Linked DNA regions of Homo sapiens: region 2 is linked to region 1. The links are contacts of gene promoters, found by promoter capture Hi-C in blood cells and fetal thymus (Javierre and others, 2016). All regions are on one chromosome and are shown on one strand. Each heading gives the region's core, a stretch centred on a gene start or on the middle of the fragment in contact. The rest is flanking DNA. Distances are from core to core; before and after follow the strand shown.

Region 1 (5,212 bases), core at 791-3,290:
GCTGGGATTACAGGCTTGAGCCACCGTGCCTGGCCGGGAGAACATTAATTTTAAGGATTTGCAGTTGTTAACTGCAGGCAGAGGCTACATTGTCTTTTATTTTGTGCTTAAAACCTGAGTACATGTAGTTTTCACAATGCACCCCAGTCCTGTCATTCTTATATCTTTCTTCACACCTCAGGTTTTTCTCAAGTAGCCTGTCATCCTGCAACATAAGATATACCAAGCACTGACCTTGCAAGTTGTCGAATCAGAAAGAGAAAGAGGAAGGAATATTATCGCAATTTTCCATGTTTCAGAATTTCATTCTGATGTGCACACAATTTTGTTCACCACGGACCAAGTGATTTTTAGTGGGAAGATAATATGCAAACAGGGAACCATTTTTGTGTGTGTCTGTGGAAGGGGGAAGCAGATGGAACCACTGGGTGGTCGTTTAGTATCTTCTTCATTGCACCTAACATACACAATCCAGTTTAAAATTATTTTTCATTTTCTCTCCCATGTGGATAACCAAATTAGATTTTTTTTTTCATATTCAGAAAGAAATCTACCTTTCTCTCGCAGGAAAATGGAGACATGTCCTTTCCATTCTGCTGAAGAGCCCAGTAGAGCTGTAGGACTCTCTTTTACCAACCCCCCAGCCCTTCCTGATCTCCAGGCACTAGGTCTGCAGTGTTACCTAAGCATCATTTTGAGATGTGAAGAGGACAGCTACCATCCATGAAAATGAAAATCCAAAGCATATGAAATGTAAAAGGAGGAGAAATTTGTCTTGCAGGGACACAGGGAGTTTTCAGAGTCTACCCTGACCTGGCCGATTATCAGATTATTAACTGGGAAATAGTTCCCTAATACCAACCTTTCATCTTTGGCCTGTAATTTGGGGGTTGTCAACAGGTAAGCTTCTCTAACCACCAAGCCTCCCTAGATAAAGAGGTGTGGTCTTCTAGGATTGGAAAACATAGGAGGTGATGCAAGAAAGTTGCAACTTTTGATTAAACATTTTAGGTTTCATTGTCACAGAATGTGCATAGACACAACTTATTTTGTTTGCATTTGAAAAACAGAACTTCTTAGTTTAAGAAATATTTTAAAAATAGGGGGCAAAAACATGAAAAATGCCCAAGTTAATAACACTCTCAGTTAACAATTGTTTATATTTGGTCATCTTTATATCATCATTTTTATTTTTAAAGCATTTTAGGGAAATATTATTTCCACCTTAATCCTAAAGTCCAATTGATTTCCCTTTCACACTTTCCAAAGACAGCCACAATCACGGATGTGATAAACATTTTACAGTCCCCCTTCTATGATTTTACAAACATGACAAGTGTCTTAAAATAAGTCACCTAAATGGCATGAGAGAGTGGATATATTTTGCATCTTGCTGTGTCTATCTGCCATCATACTTCTGAAATCTAGGTACAGGCATGCTGATCCCTACAGCTCTGATTTTAGCTTTTTAAGTGCTGCATAGCAGTCCGTTGTGTGAATACACCACATTTTATTTTTTAAGTCCTGGGGGAAAAAGTCCTTGTGGAGATGAAGCAATCATCAAAGGCAGCTAGGTTTTGCTTGTTTAGATGCTGGAGAACAAGCAGAAACACCTCCACTCACTTGTCTCAACCCAGCAAATATTTATTGAAGTCTGTCTGGGTCTGCACATGAGTCAGTGCCAGGCAGGGGAACCTGGATGGAGTGCAAAATAGCTGGAATTGGCCCTAGCCTGCATTTAGTTTTGTGAGTTATCTTGATCAGCAGCCTTTGTCTTCTCTTCTCCTTGCACTTCCTAGCTTCCCAACAGTACCCTTAGTATGCAGGTTTATTGTTATTATTCGTTAAATCTAGACCACCACTCACCTAGTCTCGATTCTTCCTTCATTCCTCCCATGAGGCTCGGAGCGATGCTTTCATCCAGGGAACAGGGACTAAGAGAAGAACTCCAAGAGCAAGGAGCAAGAAAAGGCACCTATCTGCCCGGAAGCGGCGGAGGCTGCGAGCGCCGGGCTGGGCTGGGCTGGGCTGCGCTGGACTGAGCTGGGCTGGGCTGGGGAGGCACCTGCGGCTGCCAAGGGGTCCGAGCGCCGCCCAGCGCACAGCTACCCCGGAGGGGCGGCTCCTTGGCCAGGGAAGGAGGCGGGATCTGCTTGCCAGCGGGCGTCTCCGCTTAGCGCTCTCTCCAGAAACCGCTGGGCAGTCTCCTGGGTGAGCGCCAGACGCCTGGGGTCCGTTTGCCGCCTGCTGAGACTAGACAAGGACCCCGGGAGGGCGACGTTGGGGGAGAGGGCTACGGATGGAGGTCCCGCCGCGCTTGGGCCGGGTCCGGAGCCACCAGGACGCACAGCGGGTACTATTACGCCCCATATCACGGGAACTGCCTCACCCCCCCTGCGATGTGGATCGTAATAGCCGGGGGGGGGGGGGGGGGAGAAGGGGGGTGCTATTACTCTCCATATCGCCGGGGGTGCCTCACCCCCCTGCGATGTGGATCCTAAAAGCCGGGGGGTTGAGGGGGAGAGGGCGGTGCTATTACTCCTCATATCGCGGGGGAAGCCTCACTCCCCTGCGATGTGGATCGTAATAGTCGGGGGGGAAAGGGGGACGCTATTAATCCCCATATGGCAGGAGGGTGCCTCACACCCCAGCGATGTGGCTCGTAGTAGCCAGGGAGGGAGGGGGGGTCCTATTACTCCCCATATGGCGGGGTGTGCCTCACCCTCTTGCTATATGGGAATTAATAGCATTCTCTCCCCTCTTGGACATTAGAAACAATTTCACAGTGTGTGTGTACACAGCCTGCGATATTGAAACTAACAGCATCCTATCCACCTCCGGTTATTAGGAACAATATCACAAAATGGTGTACACTCTTTGCGAGACTTGGAGTTCTATCGTGCTGTGTTTCCCTGAATATTCGTAGAAATGTGACAGCGTGGGTGTACACCCACTACTATATTGGGAGTAACTTCGTACTCCACCCCCTGGAAATTAGGAGAAATATCACGGAAGGGGTGTAAAGCCACTGCGATATTTGAAATAATATCATGCCCTCACCCACTAGTTATTAGGAACAATATCACAGGACGGTGTATACCTTCTACAGTATTGGGAGTAATATCATCATCTCTTTCTTTAGATATTAGGAACAATATCAAAGGGGGTTGCACACCCAGTGTATTATTGGAAGTAATATCATTCTCTCTTCTTCTAGATTTTAGGAATCATATCACAGGCAGGGTGTACCACCCTTATTATATTAAAAGTAATGTTATCTCCTTTCGACCTGGATATTAAGAACAATAAGAAATGCGTTCTGTACATCCTTTGAATATTGGTAGTAATACCATCTTTTCCCTTCCTGGATTTAAGAAACAATATGACTTGTGGGGTGTCCACCCCTTGCAATATTGGGAGTAATATCACCTCTCCCCATGAGGTTATTAGGGACAAAATCACAGGGTGGGTGTACACTTCCTACGTTATTAAGAGTAATATCATCCACTTTCCCCCTTTATATCAGGAACCATATCACAGAAGAGGTGTACACCCCCTGTGATATTGTCAGTAATATCATCTCTTCCCCCCTGGATATTAGGAGCAAAACCACAGGGGGGATGTACACCCACTGCGATATTGAAAGTAATAGCAGCCTCTTTCCCGCTGGATATTAGGAAGTATATCACAGGTGTGTGTGCACCTTCTGCGATATTGGTAGTAATATAAACCTCTACTATGCTGCCTATTAGGAAGAATATACAGTGGGGGGCGGGGGGGTTACAACCCCTGCGACATTGGGCATAATATTATTATTTTTCCCTGTACATTAAAAACTCTATCAAAGGGGTCTGTACACCTTCTGCGATATTGGGATCAATTTTATTCTCTCCCCCACTGAATGTTAGAAACAATATTACAGAAGGGTGTACACTTCCTGCGATATGGCCAGTAATATCATCATCTCCTTCCCTGGATATTAGGAACAATATCACCATTTGTGTACATCCCTTGCGCTGTTGGGAGTAACATTATTCTCTCTTCCCCTTGATATTAGAAATAATATCACAGGCGGAGTGTACACCCCACCCCCTGCGATACTGAAGGTAATATCATTCTTTTTTAACTTAGATATAAGGAACAGTATCACAGGGGGCGTGTACACTTTCTTCGATACTGGGAGTAATACCATCCTCTCAACCCGTAAAGAGCAGGAAAAATATCAAAGAATGTTTGTACACCACTTGCGATATTGGGAGTAACATCATCCTCCCCTCACCTGGGTATCAGAAAAAATATCATGGGGCATGGATGTACACCACCTGCGATACTGGGAGTAATATAATGTTCTATCCCCATGGATATTGAGAACAATATCACAGAGGTGGTGTACATCCTCTGCGTTACTGCGAGTAATATCATCCTCACCCCCCCTAGATATTAGGAGCAATATCACAGGAGGATTATACACCCGCTGCAACATTGGGAGTAATATCATCCTTTCCCTTCTGAATATTAGGAACCATATCTCATGGGGGATGTACAGCCCATTCCATTTTGGGAGTATAATCAATTTCTTCATTGCTGGAAATAAAAAACAATATAACAGTGGTGGTGTACACACCCTGTGATATGGCCAGTAATAACCTAGACTCTCCCCCGGGATATAAGGAACAATATCAAAAAAGAGTGCATACTCCCAGCGATATTGGGGTTAATATCATACTCTTCCCCCCTGGATATTAGGAACAATATCAAAGAAGGGGTGTCCACCCCTTGCCATATTGACAGTAATATCATCCTCTCCCTCCCTGGATATTAAGAACAATACCACAGAGTTGGTGTACACCCACTGCAATATTGAGAGTCATGTCATCCTCTACCCCCTGGATATTAAAAACAACATCACAGAGGGAGTGCACAACCCCCGCGATATGGCCAGTAATATCATAGTCTCCCCCACTGGATATTAGGAACAATATCACATGGGCGTGTACACCTCCAGCGCTATTGAAAGTAATATCATTCTCTCTTCCCCTGGATATTGGGAATAATATCACAGGTGGGGTGTACAACTCCTGCGATATTGGCAGTAATATCATCCTCTCCCAACCTAGATATTAGCAACAAAATAACAGAGGGGTTTATACTGCCTGCGATATTGGGATATCATCCTCTCCCCACCTAAATATTAGGAACAATATCACAGGGG
Region 2 (5,212 bases), core at 2,312-4,811, 220 kb before region 1:
AAACTAGGTAAATGGCTAGGTCCTTATTTTAAATGTTTTGGAGATTAAAGGACAGAGAATATTCTGGACTTTCTCCCCTGCCTGTTCAGTCAATCTCCCCCTTTTCCCATTGATGCGACTCCACTCCAAGCACTGTAAAAGAGCTGGGGGCTATAAAGATAAATAAGACATAGTTCCTGGCATAAATAAGTTTAGCAAAAAAAAAAAAAAAATCAAAATATTAAAAATAGTGTTAGGAGTAGCTGCCATTTAATTAACTTGACTTAAGAGCTTTATGAGAATAATCTTATTTAATCTTCAGTATGTTCACTGTCCTTTATTCCCCTATACACTGTGTTCTCCCTGCTCTCTTAAGGAGCTTAGATCCCTTGCTTCATCCTCAGTTCCCTTGAGTTTTTCTCTCCCTTCTCAGCACTCATCTTAAAGAGCCCACATTCAATTCCACACCCTACCTGCTCCTTGCCTGCACATATGCTACTGTAAGTGGCTGGAGGAACATCCACAACCAGGCTTACTGGTCTCTCTTTAAATTTATGGTCACCGTTTGAAGGGAATCTTTACTGCTGCTATTACCGGAAAGGGGTCTCGATCCAGACCCTAAGAGAGGGTTCTTGGATCTTGTGCAAGAAAGAATTCAGGGTGAGTCCATAGAGTAATGAAAGCAAGTGTATTAAGAAAGTAAAGGAACAAAAGAATGGCTGCTCCATAAACAGAGCAGCCCCGAGGATCTGCTGGTTGCCTGTTTTTATGATTCTTTCTTGATGATATGCTAAACAAGGGGTGGATTATTCATGCCTCCCCTTTTTAGACCATCTAGGGTAACTTCCGACGTTGCCATGGTATTTGTAAACTGTCATGGCGCTGGTGGGAGTGTAGCAGTGAGGACGACCAAAGGTCACTCTTGTCGCCATCTTGGTTTTGGTGGGATTTAGCCAGCTTCTTTAGTGCAACCTGTTTTATCAGGAAGGTCTTTATGACCTGTATCTTGTGCCGACCTCCTCTCTCATCCTGTGACTTAGAATGCCTTAACCATCTGGGAATGCAGCCCAGTAGGTCTCAGGTCTCGGCCTCATTTTACACAGCTCCTATTCAAGATGGAGTTGCTCTGGTTAACACGCCTCTGACACTGCCAGATAATCATACCATATTTTCCTAGTTCCTTTACTGTCCTGGAAAATGATTTTCATATGAACTCCTCCTCCCTCTCCCAATACCTTCTTTCCTAGATGGTCTTAGCTGATGGCAGAAAAAATAGATGGAGTCAGAAGACAAATTCCATGAAGTCCTTCCCGGAAATATACCCAGCTACTGGACTCTGTGCAAAGATATTCTCCTCTTCAGTGACTGTGGAGGAACCAGTCTTGTTTCTAGCTAAGGGCAAGCCCTCCACTCAAACAATAAATGTCACCTGAGTTGCCTATTCTGGAACTTTCATAGAGCCATTGACCTACTTCTCTCCTGCCTCATAAAGTTTCCTCTCCTGACTGAATCAGCCTCATTGGCATAAAACTAATCAGTGCCCAGGTACCAATTCTACTCTACTGAGCCTTTCTTTGGCCCATATGTTGCTCTGAAATTTTTGGACTGTATCATATTAGCAAAGTGATTCTTCGCCATCTTAATTCATCTGCTCTGAAATCTAGAATCAGGAAACTCTAAAAATGCATAGAGAAGCAAATATAGATACTGTAAAATCTACATTCTAACTACATGCCCTTTAGTTCCAGAAAAGTTCTTCTTCACCTATTTAATCTTTCTCCAGATGCAATTTTAAAAAATTCTTACATTCACTCCCCTAATAATTATTGAGCAATTTCTATGGACAAGGCTCTATTTCAGGCATTCAGTAAATAAACAGACACATCACATACCCTCAAATAGCTTATATTCTGGTGATGGGGAGAATATTCAATAATAAATTAATATGTCATGTGGTAAAAAGTATTATGAAGATAAAGCAGGAAAGGGGGCTAGCAAGTGACAGGTGGTGTAATAAGGATATGCGTTATTATTATATAATAAGAAGAATACGAAGTAAACTCCATGATATTTGGGACTTATTATTCACCTCCATTGCACTAACACTGATAAAAATAATGGCACATAGTAAGCACAAGGTAAATATTGTGTGAATATTTTGAGAATGAATGAATGAATGAATGAATGAATGAGTGATGGTGAGGAAGAGAACCCAGTTAGGAGGTTACAATAATTCAGGTGATAGCCAAATGATGGCTAAACACAGGAAGAAACTTTGCAAATCATGAGAGGAGACCATAGTCTGGATACATTTAAAAGATAGAACTGGCTGGGTGCGGTGGTTCATGCCTGTAATCCCAGCACTTTGGGAGGCTGAGGCAAGCAGATCACATGAGGTCAGGAGTTCGAGACCAGCATGGCCAACATGGTGAAACCCCCTCTCTACTAAAAGTACAAAAATTAGCCAGGTGTGGTGGCAGACACCTGTAATGCCAGCTACTCAGGAGGATGAGGCGGGAGAATTGCTTAAACCTGGGAGGCGGAGGTTGCTGTGAGCCGAGATCACCCCACTGCACTCCAGCCTGGGCAACAAGAGCGAGACTCTGTCTCAAAAAAAAAAAAAAAAAAAAAAAAAATAGAATCAGTAGCATTTGCTGAAAGATTGTCTGTGGAGAGTAGGGGCATGATTGAAGGAGAGAAATCAAGGATGGTGCCAAACCTTTCGCCTGAGCAACTGGAATGGAGTACCCATTGATTTAAGTGTGGAAATCTGTGGTGTGGCAGGTGTGGTAGCCAAAATTAAGTTTCTTTGGGACTGTAAATCAAGTCTATTTCTACATCTTCCTCTCCCTCTTTCAGTTTACTGAGATACCTAAAGCCAAGCACTGCTGTGTATCCAAGGAAAACCATTCAGAGTCATTCTACTGTGGAAAACATCCATACTGGTTCCATTCTTCTCTCTCTTGGCCAGACACAGAGGCATCCTGTGTTGATGGCTGCCTTTCTTATGGCCAAGGAAGGCTTTTTCCTTCAAATTCATCTTAGAGGCTTTATTTTGGTTCAAGAAAGTGAAAGATAATTGAAGGGGATGAAACAAGGAAAATAGTGTTTGTTGTACATTTCTGATGATGGCAACAGCTTGAATCAATTTGCTGTGTTTCTGTGTCTGGCTGGTCACAGCAGCCGGATCCAGAAGAACACATTGCAATTGCCATTCAGCATGGCCTCTTGCATGCAAACCTGACCTCAAAAAAGCTTAACCAAGTCTTGTTATTTGAAACAACACACACACACACACACACACACAATCAAGTGATCAAAAATATGGTATAAATCTATTTAGTAAAGAGTGTTCTGGATTATAATGATGGTAACAGAGGAGATAACTCAGATGTAAGAAAGGCAAAGAAACTTGTAAAATTAAAAAAAAAGGCAGCAGCAGCGGTATTTTTTTTTTAGGATTGTAAATGTCCCCTACATATTTTTGCTTTTCTTGAGAAAAATGTGCAAGATCCTTTCCAGCAAGTTTGGGGCAGTAAAATCTACAGGAAAGATGCAGAGAGAGAGAGCTCTGCTGGTTTCCATAGTATGTAGTTAATTCTCCTTTTACTCTGTTCTAAATATAATCCTGCTCATTTGCATGCCAATCCCCAGAATGCTTTGTAATTTCACAACTCTTGGCTAGTGGTCTCAGCACTTACGCTTTAAGAACAAAGCAAAATGTTTAGGGCGTGCCTTTGGCCCAGTCTTTTTATTCCCCCTTGTGTTTTGCAAGAGTATAGGGAGGTGATCTTTGCTTGGCATTCATCCTCCTTTGCAGAGTATCACAGAAATAAAGTGGAGACTGCTGTGGACTTTTCTTGCGAAGACTGCATTCAGTCCAATTAACCATAAATAACCAGAAGCTTGGATTAACTCACTTGAGAGGGAGTGTTTAAGGGGGGCTTTGTGTGTCCTTGGATTATGTGACCAGTCTGGTTCGTTTCGGGTTTATGGAAAGCCCAAGCCGGAGTATTCTGTATTCTCTTTCTGTGGATGCCTTATATAGTTTCTTTATCGCAAGCACGTCTTCACTTTAATGACAAGATGTCTAGAATTGCCATCAGTGGGCTGCCTTATGGAAACGTGAATTCAAGATTCAACACAGCTTTAGTCATGCTTAGTGACATACAGGATTTCTATTTAATAGAACATTAAGATTGACAATTGGGGAGCGGTGGGAAAATTGTCTTCAAAGGGTTTTATAATTTTTTTTGCATAGCAAGTCTTTTTTTGGTTCCTTAAATTTTATGTTTGGAATTATTTGTCGTGAGAGTTGAGGAGCTCCCTCACCCCCAGCCACCACTCAGACCCCACCCACAGTGGCCTCTCCAAATATGTCTCCCTTTGGCCGTTTGATTTTAGCAGGTAGCTAAAGGACAATGTATTCCATCGCCGAAGGGCCATGGTTTTGCTTGTAATAACATATAAACCTTCGTCTGTCAGCCCTGCCTAAAGTAAACTCGGGATTGTGAGCAGTGCACGTGGTTCATTACTGATGGGGAGCAATAGCAGTTCTACTCCAAATCCATGGCTGCGCACCAGGAACGTGTCTGGGCTACTGCCTTCCCACTCCACAGGTGTTTTCTACTTTTTACTCACAGAGCAGCATTCATGTTCTTTCTTTGATTCTGAGACTCAGTCAGGCAGTGGAGTTTCTTTAACAAGATACTACTTGGATATTTTTTAAATACAGGGAATGGTTGAGTCCACTGCTACCGTGCCCCTTGCAGCCTCTGAGAGCGAGTCACGGCTTTCCATTTTCTAATGTGTATGTTCCGGGTCTGGGGACCCCAGCAGGCCCGCCAGGTTGCAGAGTCGGACCAGTCTCCGGCGTCTGAAGGGGCTGCGCCGCTGTTTACCACCCCGCGAGCAGCAGAGGCGGCGCCCAGCCCTCCTCTCGAACAAAGGCGCGGCCGCCGCATTCGACCCGCGCCATGGCAGAGGAGAGCGGGTGCCGGGAGGGAAGCCGGGAACCGTCTCCATTCTGAAACTAGGGCGGGGAAGGTAGGAGATCCGACGAGGAGCTGGCTGGGGGCGGCGGCGCCCGCAACTCGGCCCCGCGGCCGGGAGGGCGTAGCTGATGCTCCCACCCCCGGGACTCAGCCTCCGCTCCCGAAAAGCCCCTCGCGCCCCCTGGTGGCTGTGGAGCAGCCTGACTCCGCAGCACTCGCGAATCAGAAAAAAAAAAAAA

Evidence for each region. The method cuts DNA at HindIII sites, captures the fragments that hold promoters and counts their contacts. A CHiCAGO score of 5 or more calls a contact.
Region 2: a fragment that was not itself captured here is called in contact with the fragment with the promoter of STK32A in region 1 in 2 of 17 cell types (M1 macrophages and M0 macrophages); the score reaches 5.9 in M1 macrophages.

Annotation. Positions count from the first base shown.
Region 1 is chr5:147,231,854-147,237,065 of GRCh38, reverse strand. It overlaps STK32A (serine/threonine kinase 32A), which reads right to left and starts at 2,040. Exons shown (of 13, transcript NM_001112724.2): 1 at 1,867-2,040. STK32A-AS1 (STK32A antisense RNA 1) reads left to right here and starts at 2,207. Exons shown (of 4, transcript NR_147190.1): 1 at 2,207-2,353. The HindIII fragment of the contact is 14,744 bases long and covers 908-5,212 here.
Region 2 is chr5:147,453,985-147,459,196 of GRCh38, reverse strand. All of the region lies in intron 1 of DPYSL3 (dihydropyrimidinase like 3), which reads left to right. Among named protein-coding and RNA genes, the nearest start is that of DPYSL3, 53 kb to the left of the region's middle. RefSeq lists an enhancer at 2,749-3,250 and a silencer at 4,969-5,108. The HindIII fragment of the contact is 650 bases long and covers 3,237-3,886 here.